5 separate regions of the Homo sapiens genome follow, and all the other regions are linked to region 1. Evidence: promoter capture Hi-C in 16 types of primary human blood cells and fetal thymus (Javierre and others, 2016). All regions are on one chromosome and are shown on one strand. Each heading gives the region's core, a stretch centred on a gene start or on the middle of the fragment in contact. The rest is flanking DNA. Distances are from core to core; before and after follow the strand shown. Region 1 holds the start of ANKRD63 (ankyrin repeat domain 63). Region 2 overlaps GPR176 (G protein-coupled receptor 176). Region 3 overlaps GPR176 (G protein-coupled receptor 176). Region 4 overlaps EIF2AK4 (eukaryotic translation initiation factor 2 alpha kinase 4). Region 5 overlaps EIF2AK4 (eukaryotic translation initiation factor 2 alpha kinase 4).

Region 1 (2,556 bases), core at 31-2,530:
AGAACCGAGATTCTGTCTCTCTCTTACCCGCTGCCGGCAACAAAATGTGCGGCTCATGAAAAGTCTCAGTAAATTCTGCAGCTGATAACTGCTTTACTCCTTACTTTACAAATATCCATTCCAACCCTACTCACACCCTCCCCACCACCCACACCCAGGCTCTGAGGCGCCCTAACTCTGCTCCGCCCAGGCCTGTGTATCATCCCCCCTCCTCCAGGACCGAGGGGGACCTGCTGGCCGGAGGGAGAGGAGATGCAGTGGTTTCTCCAAGCATCTTACGGAAAATGGAACTTGTGCTCGCCTCCTCTCTTTAGGGGTCAGCCAGTGGTCAGAGCCAGAGCCCTGTGGCCTGGGGGTTGTTTTGTGCTCAAGGGAGAAGCGAGGGGCAGGGAACCTCGAGTGGGTCCCTAGCTCTTTCCAGGGTGGCGGCGCCAGGGAACTTTTAACATGTCCGCGGCACTCCCGGGTCCTAAGGAGCCCCTCCCTGGTCTGGGCGTCTACACTCTGCCCGCTAGGCAGCCACCAGGAGCTGGCACGCGGGCGCGTTGTCGGGGTTGGAGACGTCTGAAATTGGAGAGCGCACTCGGACCCCACCCCTCGTTCCCAGGGAGCGTGTGCGGGTGGAACAATTGTGTGTGAGTGCGTGATTCTCTGCACTTCGAGTGGCAGTTCCCAGCCAGGCTGAGCGCCCCCAATCCGCGGCACGTATACCCCCTCCCCCAAATTACTCCTCATCCGCCTTTCGCTGCCACCCCTAGCTCGCGCGTGGTCCAGTTCTGCGCTCATGGGGTCCCAATTCCTTTCACCCTGGACCGATGGGGGCAGCTTTCAGTCTTCCCCGACGAGGCCGAGGTCCCGCCAGTTTCTAAGGAGCCGAGGGCACCGACTCGGTTGGGGGCGGAGGGCGGGGAGAGAAGACTGCGACTTTGGGATTGGCCCGGTTGGGTGCATGTGGCCCCCGGCGAGCAGCCCCCGCCCCCGCCCCGCAACCGCCGCCGCATTCCCAGGGGAGCGCGGAGGAGGAACCGCTCCCCTACTTCGTGGCCCACGAAGGGGTGGGGGTCAGGAGCGGTCTCCCCCGCCCCGTCCGTCTCTGCCCTGACGGCGCAGTCCGCTCCCAGGACAGCCATTGCCATGGAGACCCCCAAGGCTATAAAGTCAGGTATCTAGGCGGGCGGCAGCTCCCGCGCCGCTGAGCCCCCCAAGTAAGGAGCAAGCGCCCTGGCGTGGCCCGGCCCCCGCGAGAGGGGAGGAGGCGGAGGAACGGCGCCAGCAGCTTGAGGAGCGGCGCGCCCCGCCAGGGCTGGAGGCAGGCGTGCACGGCGGGCGCCACCGTCGCTGCGGGGGAGCGGGGGCTGCCCTGGGTGCGGGTGAGTGGCACGGCGGCTCCAAACCACGAGGACTGAGGGGCGCCGGACACCGGGAAAGCGGCGAGAGACTCGGGAGAGGGTCGAGTCTCTGCTCCCGACGTCTGGTGGCGGGCCAGGAGCGGAGCCCGGAGTAGCGAGCAATCAACACCTCCAGGCGGGAGGCCCGGGGAAGGAGCGGCGACACGCCAGGCGTGCGGCCCAGGAGCGGCGGGGCAGTCGGAGCCTCCGGGACAGCGGAGTAGGAACCTCGGGACCCTCGGCTGCAGCCGCCCACGCGCGGAGGGAGAGGTATCAGAGCGCGGGCGGAGGCCGGAGCCCCGCGGGGCGCGAGAACAGGGGCGCCCCCGTGCGGAACTGCCAGGCTGCCCGGGCGCGGCGGCCGGGGCCATGCTCAAACCCAAGGACCTGTGCCCCCGAGCGGGGACGCGCACCTTCCTGGAGGCCATGCAGGCGGGCAAAGTGCACTTGGCCCGCTTCGTGTTGGATGCGCTGGACCGCAGCATCATCGACTGCCGCGCGGAGCAGGGCCGTACGCCGCTCATGGTGGCCGTGGGGCTGCCGGACCCCGCGCTGCGCGCGCGCTTCGTGCGGCTGCTGCTCGAGCAGGGTGCTGCAGTGAACCTGCGAGACGAGCGCGGCCGCACCGCACTCAGCCTGGCGTGCGAGCGAGGCCACCTGGACGCCGTGCAGCTGCTGGTGCAGTTCAGCGGTGACCCCGAGGCGGCCGACTCTGCGGGCAACAGCCCGGTGATGTGGGCGGCGGCCTGCGGCCACGGGGCGGTGCTCGAGTTCCTGGTGCGGTCCTTCCGCCGCCTAGGCCTGCGCCTCGACCGCACCAACCGTGCGGGGCTCACCGCGCTGCAACTGGCCGCCGCCCGCGGCCACGGGACCTGTGTGCAGGCCCTCACCGGGCCCTGGGGCCGCGCCGCCGCCGCCGCTGCGGCCCGGGGCTCCAACTCCGATAGTCCCCCTGGCCGCCCGGCCCCCGCGGCCAGCCCCGAGCATCGACGACCCAGCCCCCGCCGCCTCCCGCGGCCTCTCCTGGCGCGCTTTGCGCGAGCGGCGGGCGGCCACGGCGGCGAGGCTGGCTCAGCGGGCAAGAATTCGGGCCGGCACCGGGCGCAGGGCAGCGAACGGCCCGAGCTGGGTCGGAGCATGAGCCTGGCTCTAGGTGCGGTAACCGAGG
Region 2 (2,556 bases), core at 57-2,556, 480 kb after region 1:
GCAAGTTCATCGGGAGGTCATCTACACTTCTTGCATCACTGTTTAGAGGTGTACACACTAAGAACATTATTTATAGTGAGCCTGTGTGCTTATGTTGCAATCTGTTTCCCAACATGTAACGGGATTGGAAATTAATGGAAGCCTGGGTTTGTTACATGTCAGTGAGCAAATGGCAGTCAGAGCCAGTGAACTCCTAAGCATCTATTCATGTGTACAGGTGGGGCCATCACATATTTACTGAGTTGTCATTACAAAACTATCTACATTCAGAGAAAAAAAAATGTGAAAGCATGCATCACTTATGCACTTCTTTCTCTTTTTCCCTCCTCCCAGAAAGAAATCTAGAACATATCTTACCATGCTCCCTCCTTCCCTGATTGTCCATGGTCGCTATTGTGTTTGCATCCCATCTCTTTCAGCCTGGAATGTTCCCCTTCAGCTGGTCCCCCTGCCAGACTCCACTGCAGTGTCTCCCTCTCTTGCTATTTTCCCAGGTGGCTTTAGGCGCTACCTGTACCTCCTTTGTGCCTGCCTCTAGTAGAGCTGTCATCTCCTTGTTCGTAATTATTAGTGTGTGTATCTTTGTCCCCGTTGGGTTTAGAGACATTCCTGTGTCTTTTCATTCTTATAACCCAGTGCCAGGCACAGGACCTGGTGCATAGGTGGTGCTCAGAAGTACCTGTTACAGGAGGCTGGGCACGGTGGCTCACGTCTGTAATCCAACCACTTTGGGAGGCCGAGGCGGGTGGATCAGCTGAGGTTAGGAGTTCGAGACCAGCCTGGGCCAACATGGCGAAACTCCGTCTCTACTAAAAATACAAAAATTAGCCAGGCGTGGTAGTGCATGCCTGTAATCCCAGCTGCTCGAGAGACTGAGGCAGGAGAATGGCTTGAACCCAGAAGGCGAAGGTTGCAGTGAGCCTAGATCATGCCACTATACTCCAGCCTGGGCGACAGAGTGAGACTCTATCTCAAAAAAAAAAAAAAAAAAAAAAAAAAGAAGTACTTGTTATCTGAAAGCTTATGTGCTTACTTGCCCTATGAGTGAATGGGTGTCACTAAGGTTGTAAGGTCAACCCCAGCATTAACTGACTGCACAGATATGGCCAAGCAAATGTGAAGAAACTGACCATATCTCTGAGAGCTAGTGGCAGCCCTTTTACTACAGATGTGGTTCTAGGGTGCAAAGAGTTATTCAGTTCCCTCAAATCACTGGTGATATTGAAACGGCATGCTTTTGGAATTCTGTTTAGGTGCTTACAGAATGATCAAGTTAAATATTGGAAGGAAAAACAATGTCTCATCTGATTTTAACAAAAATCTAATTGTGCAGGCATTTTAGACCTATTAATTGCCCTTAGGGTTACTGAGTGATTATCATGGGAGCAATGACTGTTGAGCAGGCATAACTTTTGTCAGCTGAATTGATTTTTGTGGAAGGACCTTGTCGGAGTCCATTCTTCATACTGGTTCTTCTGCCCTGAACAACTTTAATTGTTAATGATATCTGGACTGTGGCATAAGTCTGCTTTAGATATGTGTGTAGACAAACTTATTTCTGTTGGTAGCTTTGAAAATTGCCCTAAAGCTTCTTTAGCCCATATAAAATTGTTTACCAATTACCCTTTACCCTCAAATTGAAAAGTAGATATCTTTATAGCAGATGGAGAAATCTTTTATATGGAGGGTACTGTTTGCGATTTCATCCTGGTAGCAATAATTATAAAGCTAGCTATGAATTGAAATTATTTACTTGTTTTCCTGTAAAGCCTCATGAGGACAGGTTTGCTGCTCCTTTGGAAAGGTTTTTATTTTTTGGTCTAGTGACGCTTCTTATTGTACTTGCAAAGTCCTCAAAACTTAGGTCTGGCTTCCTGGATTCCCCCAGTGCTTTTCTGTCTTAGGCCGAATAGAAGAACTTGACCTTTCTTCCCTCTCATCTACTTTTGGTGATTTAGGTTCCCCTAATTTAAAAAGTATCTTCTGTGGAATTAATTTTGTTTGTGTATCTTGCAGGTACTACTCAGTCCTCTATCCACTGGAGAGGAAAATATCTGATGCCAAGTCCCGTGAACTGGTGATGTACATCTGGGCCCATGCAGTGGTGGCCAGTGTCCCTGTGTTTGCAGTAACCAATGTGGCTGACATCTATGCCACGTCCACCTGCACGGAAGTCTGGAGCAACTCCTTGGGCCACCTGGTGTACGTTCTGGTGTATAACATCACCACGGTCATTGTGCCTGTGGTGGTGGTGTTCCTCTTCTTGATACTGATCCGACGGGCCCTGAGTGCCAGCCAGAAGAAGAAGGTCATCATAGCAGCGCTCCGGACCCCACAGAACACCATCTCTATTCCCTATGCCTCCCAGCGGGAGGCCGAGCTGCACGCCACCCTGCTCTCCATGGTGATGGTCTTCATCTTGTGTAGCGTGCCCTATGCCACCCTGGTCGTCTACCAGACTGTGCTCAATGTCCCTGACACTTCCGTCTTCTTGCTGCTCACTGCTGTTTGGCTGCCCAAAGTCTCCCTGCTGGCAAACCCTGTTCTCTTTCTTAC
Region 3 (2,556 bases), core at 19-2,518, 400 kb after region 1:
TGAGCCCAGGAGTTTAAGGATACAGAGAGCTATGATCATGTCGCTACACTCCAGCCTGAGCAACAGGGTGAGACCTTGTCTCCAAACAAACAAACAAAAAAAACAAATAAAAAGCAGATTCCCTTCACCCCCCAAAAAAACCAACAAGAGAAAAGCAAGAAGTTAACACATATGTGTTATATGTATATGGGAGATACCAGAGAAGTGAATAGATCTCAAAGAGGTGGCTTAGTACTCTGGCTTTACAGCATTTTCAACAAAGAACAGTAAATATTTAGATAAATGACTGCAGAAAGGGAAAGGACCTTGAGTCTCTAGGCGTGGCAAACTGTGGGAAGACAAATAAAATACATGGGAAACTCCTGGTAGATAAAGCTAAGTTAGAAAGTTTGTTGTGTAGATTCATTCCTCTGGTGCCCTCTCCAGGCTGGTGATCAGCCTTTGTCCTTCCTAGACTCCTTTGCAGATAGGAGGATGGCAGAGAGCTTCTTTTATATCTGCATCTTCCCAGTTGCCTTCAACTCCAAATAATCCTTATGCCAAAGTGGCATATTTTGGGATGGCATATTCAGCTACCCTTCAACATACTCCTCTGGAAGAGGATTTAGGATTCTCAGTAAAGAACTTTGAATCTTTCCGCTTGAAAATCATTGTGCCAGGCTTACTAATAGGTGGTATGATTTGAGCGGGTGAGATTTTCTTCTAGGAAAATAAGTCCTCAGGAAATTCCAGAAGCTTTAGACAAGTAAAAGCAGAAAGGAGACAAGCTTTTTTTTTTTTTTTTTTAAATTTAAATTAACTGTTGGATGCTGCATAAATCCTGGTCAGGTTTGCATGATTCTGCAGAGCCTCTGCCTTTGCTGTTTTTCACCTGTTGGATGAATGATTCATTTGCCCCTGCTGTTTCTCACCTGTTGGATGAATGATGCTGCTGTTTTACACAGCGGCATTCCAGCAAATGTGGGTGGTGGGCCATTCACCTCTTTGTGTTGATCTGGAAATATGCATTGTTCCATTTATGCCTGAGCCACCTCAGTCTTCCTCATTAGCAAGGACTTACATATGCACTATGCTGGCTTGGAATTTAATTCTTGACTGTGCTGTTTTTAACCAAATAAGGAAAACCCTGGCCTTTTTCTGCTTCTAGGACCCAGCCACTTTTGAGTTGCCAGTGTGTTTCCAAGTATGGATTTTGGATTACCTGCATCAGAACCACTTCCTGTGCTTGTTAAAAATATTCATTTCTGGGATGCACTCCCAATCTACTGAACCACAGCCTCTGGAGTGAGGCTTAGGAATTTGCATTTTTAATATGTTTCTCAGGTAATTCATAGGTACATCAAAGTTTGAGAATCACTGGTTTAGACTCATAGAATATTAGAGAGGAAATAACCTCGTGTTCCCTTGGGGTCCCAACGTATGGCCCATTGGAACAAATGCAGACTGCTTGATGCTGGAGTTAAGCCTGGGAAAGGTTGGTAGCATACTTTTTCCATTTAAATTAGGAATTAGGATACCCACACAATCTGGTAGGTCAGTAAGGACAAAGCCCCCTCTTAAGGATCACTATTATGTGACACCTTGCTATTAGCAGGCCCAGGTCTGTCATTACAGTTGAAGGTGAACATAATTAATTACAGGCATTTCATTTTCAGCTGTTACAGTTTAATTCTCCTAATGTTATATTATGGAACCGGAACATTTGCATAATAATTTACAAAGGAGATCAGTGTGAGTAAGCACTTTTTGTGCCTTTGACTCAAGCTTTGTCACTCTAATTAGTATTCGTGTGCCAAGTGTGGATTCTCTCAACTCATTAAAATTTTTGAGATCATTCAGGCTTCACACTTAGATGTTTCAGACCATTTGGCCCACCGTTGAGGGAAAAACAACACAGATATCTTAACTTGGTCCAATGCTGTAATTTTATAGATGTGAAAATCAAGATGGGGGTGGGGGATGAAGTGACTTGTGCAAGCATGTCAGGGCTGGAACAAGTCCCCAGGTTGTGCTGCTTCTAGGTGGGTGTTCTTTCCTTCTTACTGCTGACACTCAGCAGGAGGGAAGTATACCTGTAAAATTCTCTGCTGAGTCTTACAGTTCCTGGTAGGCAAAGTCTAATATTCCCATTTCTTTCTTTCTTTTTTTTTTTGAGACAGAATTTCACTCTTGTTGCTCAGGCTGGAGTGCAATGGCACGATCTGGGCTCACCGCAACCTCCTACTCCCGGGTTCAAGTGATTCTCCTGCCCCAGCCTCCCGAGTAGCTGGGATTACAGGCGCCCGCCACCATGCCTGGCTAATTTTGTATTTTTATTAGAGACGAGGTTTCTCCATGTTGGTGAGTCTCATCTCAAACTCCCGACCTCAGGTGATCCACCCACCTTGGCCTCCCAAAATGTTGGGATTACAGGCATGAGCCACTGTGCCTGGCCTAATATTCCCATTTCTAAAGATGCATTGTTTAGTGTTCCCTTGTGAAAGCAGGGAAATTGCATTGAATTGTCTATTCAGTATGAGACTTGGAGAAACTGTCTTTCTCTTGTCTTCTACATCA
Region 4 (2,556 bases), core at 33-2,532, 350 kb after region 1:
ATCCTTGATAAATGTGTGGGTCCTTCCATAAAGCATAATTCTGCGAATGTGGTCTGGGGAAGGGTTAAGCACTCTTTGGTCCACAGGTCTTTCATCCACTCATTCACCCATCACACATCCATCACCCATATTTGCTAAGCACTGACTCTGTGTCAGGCACTGTGCTTAGTCCACGGAGGTGAGAACACAGATATGGTTCCAGCTCTCATGGAACTTCAGTCTGGTGGGGGAAAACAAACATAATAAACACATAAGTACAAGCTTAGAGAGTGCCGTTGAAGAGATGACGTGGTGCTCTCCTTAACAAACGACTTGGGGTGTGAGGGTATATACTTAAATGTGGTTATCAAAGAAGAACTATCTGAGGATGTAGCATTGAAGCTGAGACAAGCCAAGAGACCAAGCATTCCAGGCAAGGAAAAAAAGAGACTTGAAATACATTTGAGAATTATTTCATTCAGTAACAATTTTTGAAAGTTTTTTGTTTGTTTTACCAGGCACTGGGCTTGTAGGAATGGCATTTCAAATGAGTGGAAGACACTGAAAAATTCAATTGCCTATATTTGTCTAGCTGCCTAGCTGGAGGAGGAGGGATGCACACGGGGAGGTGGCCTAGGCCCGTACTTTGATGGAACGAAGAACTTAAAAAAAAAAACCTACTTATATCTTTATTTGATGAAAATTTAAAAACGAAGTCATGAACAAGTTAAAAGTAAACTTTGACGAATTTGGTTTTTAGTAACATTGGAACAGAGGGGGAAAAAAAACCCACAGGGACCATAAAAGAAAAAAAAGGTCATTTTGACTCTATCAACATTTTTTAAATCACATAAATTACGTAAATAAATGCATATAATTAGGAGAAAAATATATGCATTATATGACCCAAAATGCTAGTTTTCTTAAGATATTTAGCTCTTACAAATAAACAAGAAAATGGACCACAGAGTAGAAAAATAAACCAGAGTATGAGCAGTTCACAGAAAAAGAAAAATCAATGGTTTGTAAACAAAGGTGTTCTAGATAATTTATAAATAAATAAAAATTAAAATGAGATATGTTTCATTTATGTGGCAAAGATGAAAAAGTCTAACATATATAGTATTGTTGAAGATAAAGGAAAACAAACACCACCATACACTACTGGGGGATCCAGGGATTGAAGCAAGTTTTTTGGAGGGATGTTTCCAAAAGCTATCAAATTATAAATGAGCAGACCTTTTGCTGCTGTGGAAAGCTAGCCAAAATAAGTTAGTAATTTGTAACTATCTATAAATTATAGATACTTTAAACTAGCAGTGTCTAAACTTTTTACAAATGCAAAAGTTTTTAGCATGCACCTCAAAATGTTATTTATAAATGATATACATATGCTACTAAACTGAAATTTATATTACAACACATCCCCACTAAAAGAAGTTGAAAAAAAAATCTAACCTGAATTTATTGGCAGCAAATTTAGCCTGAACTGACATGAGGTTAGTTATAGTGTTTATTTGTTCAGTGTGAAATTTGAGTATTTCTATGTTTCATTGTGTTTGATTTTCGATGCTGCCCCAGACACTGAGGAAGGTATTAGGTAATGTGTGGAATGTGCACACATAAACGTGAACAGAAGCACTTCTGAATTCTGAAACCCATCAAGTCTCAAGAGTTTTGGATAAAAGGCTGGGCACGGTGGCTCACACCTGTAATCCCAGGACTTTGGGAGGCGAGGCGGGAGGACTTGAGGTCAGGAATTCGAGACCAGCCTGGCCAACATAATGAAACTCCATCTCTACTAAAAATACAAAAATTAGCCAGGTGTGGAGGCGGGTACCTGTAATCCCAGCTGCTCAGGAGGCTGAGGCACAAGAATCGCTTGAACCTGGGAGGTGGAGGTTGCAGTGAGCCGAGATTGCTCCACCGCACTCCAGCCCGGGCGACAGAGAGAAACTCCCTCTCAATAAAGAGTTTTGGATAAAGGATTTTGGACCTGCATCACTTTTCCCTGGCAAATAGCAGGTGATAATAAGTGCTTGTTGAATGACTAAACTCTGATTCATCCTTGAGACCATCAATTATTTGCCTGCCAGTCCTATGAATGTGTTGAGGCCATTTGCCCGGTGTACAATAGGCCACAGACAGCTATTTAAATTCTTCTGCCTGCCTTCTATAGTTTTTGCTTTGGTTTGTCTAGTATTCCATCTTGTTATGAAAGCCACCAGCTATAAATTCTTGAGGTTATCAATATCCCTACCTAAAAGAAGTTGCTTTTTCTCTTCCATTTTTCTGCAGCCCTAGGAGCAGACAACTAAGCTTGTATAAAGTAAACAAACTAGTTCAGAATGAAGCCTTAGGAGCTTTGTGTTGAGTCCCATGTACACTTTGAGACACCTATTTTGGCTGCTTCTTGGGCCTACTTCCTGATTCTCAAGGTTTGGGAAGATAGAAGTTCCCCAGTCACCAACTTCTCTGTCATGTTAAGGGGAATAATTTATATTTTTACCATTTCAGGTTAAAAATAACTTCATATTATTAAGCATTAGAAAAGTAAGCTCCCTGAGGGCAAGGATT
Region 5 (2,556 bases), core at 25-2,524, 260 kb after region 1:
TAAAAATTTCTAGTTCACAGACATATAAAAGCAGGCTATGGGCTGAATTTGGTCCAAGGTGTAGTTTGTCAATACCTCATCTAAAGTTCTACCTGAAGAAACTAAAAAAAGAATAAACTAAATCCAAAATAAGCAGAAGGAAGAAAATAGTAATGGATAAGAGTGGAGATGAATAAAATAGAAAACACATGAACAAATAAAAACTGAGAAAAATCAATGACACCAAAAGCTGGTCCTTGGAAAGACAAAACTGATCAATCTCTAGCCAGGCTGATTAGACAAAAAAGAGGGAGGACACAAATTACCCATATCAGGTCTGAAGGAGGGAGCATCACTGCAGATCCTAGAGACAGTGAAACAATAACAGGGGAATATCTGAAAACTCAGACGAAATGGAAAAGTTCCGGGAAAGATATAAACTACCAAAGCTGCCTCTAGAAGAAAGAGGTAACCAGAATAGCTCTATATATAGAAATATTTGAGATTGGACTTCTAATACTAATTGTATACAGTATCTTACAGAAAACAGAAGAGGAGAGAACACTCTCCAACTCATTTCATCAGGCCAACATTACCCTGATATCGAAACCAAAAAAAAATTAGAAGAGAAAAATATTTTTAAGAAAGTTTTTTTCCCTTTAAAAATAATTAGAAATAAAGGTTATGAGGTGGTATATTTATGAACACTTTTAGTTGAATACAAAAAAGTAAAATTGGTTACAAAGCAATGAGAGGATATGCCTATCAGCAGATACAACTTTACTTATTCTTATTTTCTTAGCTGGAAAAAGAGAACAAGAGGAGAAAAGTAGGAAAAAACCACAGCCAGTTTTTTTGTTTGTTTTGCTTTTTAAAGCTTTAATGAAGGTGGACTCTCTTCCTTATTTTATACACATTTTCTTCAGCAAGAAACCCAACAACGGCCGGGCGCGGTGGCTGACCCCTGTAATCCCAGCACTTTGGGAGGCCGAGGCGGGCAGATCACGAGGTCAGGAGACCATCCTGGCCAACATGGTGAAACCCCGTCTCCACTAAAAATACAAAAAATTAGCCGAGCGTGGTGGCGGGCACCTGCAGTCCCAGCTACCGGGGAGGCTGAGGCAGGAAAATGGCGAGAACCCGGGAGGCGGAGCTTGCAGTGAGCCGAGATTGCGTCATTGCACTCCAGCCTGGGAGACAGCGAGACTCCGTCTCAAAAAAAAAAAAGAAACCCAACAATGGAAAGGGAGAGTAGAGGGAACGGATTTCCAGTCACCTACACGGCCCGGGCCTCAGTGTGAAGGCAGGTGCTCCACAGGTAACACCTAACTATTGAATTGTAAAAAATCTCTGACGTCTTTACCTTGACATGGCTTCCTTCTTTATCCGAGACAAGGGCCACATAGGTGATTTCATGATGTCTGCAGTACTCTTGTAATTCCTCTTGGGACTGAAACAAACAAACATAGTAAAGAAAATAAACACAGAGCACCTGGAACAGCTTCAAGTAATTAAGGAGAATGAAAATACTGTTTCCAATTATATTCTCAATGTGAATTACTAAAATGCTGACTTCAGGGGGATATAAATATTAAGCAAGAAGCCGCATAGAATTCAAGGGAGGAACAAGGCCTCTCTTGCCTCCCTTCCCTTCATGATTGTTTAAAGGGCCATGAATAATCAATCAATAGTAAGAGGTTTTCAAAAGCTTCAAGACTTAATAAAAGATGCCCAAAATTATACAACACAACATACACACACACACACACACACACACACACACACACGCTGAAAAAGCCTCTGAGGAAAATGAAGGAAACAAAGGAAATAAGGGAAGGTGAAAAGCAGAACTGAAGAAGCAAACCAGGAGGGGGCAGAGAAGCCTGTGGGGTGTCACTGTGCAGGACTGAGGTCACTGGCCACGAGGCTTGGATTTTACTGCAGGACAGAACACTTCTCTAATGATTTATGAAACATGTGAACAAGTAGAAGAGGACACTGTTCTGTCAAATGATTAAAAATTGTTGCTCAGCACACTTCTGATGTGAATTTTGATACAACACACACACACGAGTAAACAGCAGCAGCTTCAGAAGCCTCCTGGCAGGTGATGTAAACAGAGCAGGTGGGAGGGTGGTGGGTCTGTGTCCCTGGTCATCGCCATGCTCTGGGGCACCTTTAGTGTGGGCGAATGTGGGTACAACCTGGATGATCTCCTGGGAGTGCACCCCTTCTATGGTCTGCTTACGCCCCCATTCCAAAGGGCAGGCATGTGTCCTGGGTGCCACTTTCCACACCTCCACACCCACGGCAAGTGTCAGGCCTGCATGCTGTGGGAGGTCTCAGGATACAGAGCCCAAAACACACTAAGCACTGAGTGCCTTCAGAAGTGTGGCAGGCTGGAGTACAGCCCCGCAAAGATGTCCATATCCTCATTCCTAGAACCTGTGAGTGATCAACCAGGATTATCTGGGTGGGCCCCACGTAATCACAGGGTGCATGTATGAGGGAGCTGGACAGACAAGAGTTAGAGACAGATGTAAGAACAGAAGCACAGGTCAGCAAGGAAGGAGGCGC

The links. Contacts are between HindIII fragments. The CHiCAGO score rates a contact against its expected background, and 5 or more counts as called.
Region 2: a fragment that was not itself captured here is called in contact with the fragment with the promoter of ANKRD63 in region 1 in 2 of 17 cell types (total B cells and naive B cells); the score reaches 8.3 in total B cells.
Region 3: a contact is called between a fragment that was not itself captured here and the fragment with the promoter of ANKRD63 in region 1, in 1 of 17 cell types (naive CD4 T cells). The highest score is 5.7, in naive CD4 T cells.
Region 4: a fragment that was not itself captured here is called in contact with the fragment with the promoter of ANKRD63 in region 1 in 1 of 17 cell types (total B cells); the score reaches 5.1 in total B cells.
Region 5: a contact is called between a fragment that was not itself captured here and the fragment with the promoter of ANKRD63 in region 1, in 4 of 17 cell types (naive CD4 T cells, total B cells, activated CD4 T cells and 1 more). The highest score is 6.2, in naive CD4 T cells.

The regions. Positions count from the first base shown.
Region 1 is chr15:40,281,788-40,284,343 of GRCh38, reverse strand. ANKRD63 (ankyrin repeat domain 63) reads left to right here and starts at 1,280. Exons shown (of 1, transcript NM_001190479.3): 1 at 1,280-2,556. The coding sequence starts at 1,758. It also overlaps a transcript of PLCB2 not described here. RefSeq lists silencers at 1,319-1,388, 1,459-1,518, 1,529-1,798. The HindIII fragment of the contact is 15,046 bases long and covers 1-2,556 here.
Region 2 is chr15:39,801,715-39,804,270 of GRCh38, reverse strand. It overlaps GPR176 (G protein-coupled receptor 176), which reads left to right. Exons shown (of 3, transcript NM_007223.3): 3 at 2,017-2,556. Among named protein-coding and RNA genes, the nearest start is that of FSIP1, 20 kb to the right of the region's middle. The HindIII fragment of the contact is 568 bases long and covers 1,023-1,590 here.
Region 3 is chr15:39,885,830-39,888,385 of GRCh38, reverse strand. The region is part of intron 1 of GPR176 (G protein-coupled receptor 176); the gene reads left to right. Among named protein-coding and RNA genes, the nearest start is that of GPR176, 33 kb to the left of the region's middle. RefSeq lists enhancers at 658-1,188, 1,721-2,252, 2,253-2,556. The HindIII fragment of the contact is 997 bases long and covers 770-1,766 here.
Region 4 is chr15:39,935,819-39,938,374 of GRCh38, reverse strand. The region is part of intron 1 of EIF2AK4 (eukaryotic translation initiation factor 2 alpha kinase 4); the gene reads right to left. Among named protein-coding and RNA genes, the nearest start is that of EIF2AK4, 3.0 kb to the right of the region's middle. The HindIII fragment of the contact is 2,037 bases long and covers 264-2,300 here.
Region 5 is chr15:40,021,392-40,023,947 of GRCh38, reverse strand. EIF2AK4 (eukaryotic translation initiation factor 2 alpha kinase 4) reads right to left here. Exons shown (of 39, transcript NM_001013703.4): 32 at 1,343-1,429. Among named protein-coding and RNA genes, the nearest start is that of SRP14, 17 kb to the left of the region's middle. RefSeq lists enhancers at 573-1,072, 1,073-1,574. The HindIII fragment of the contact is 831 bases long and covers 859-1,689 here.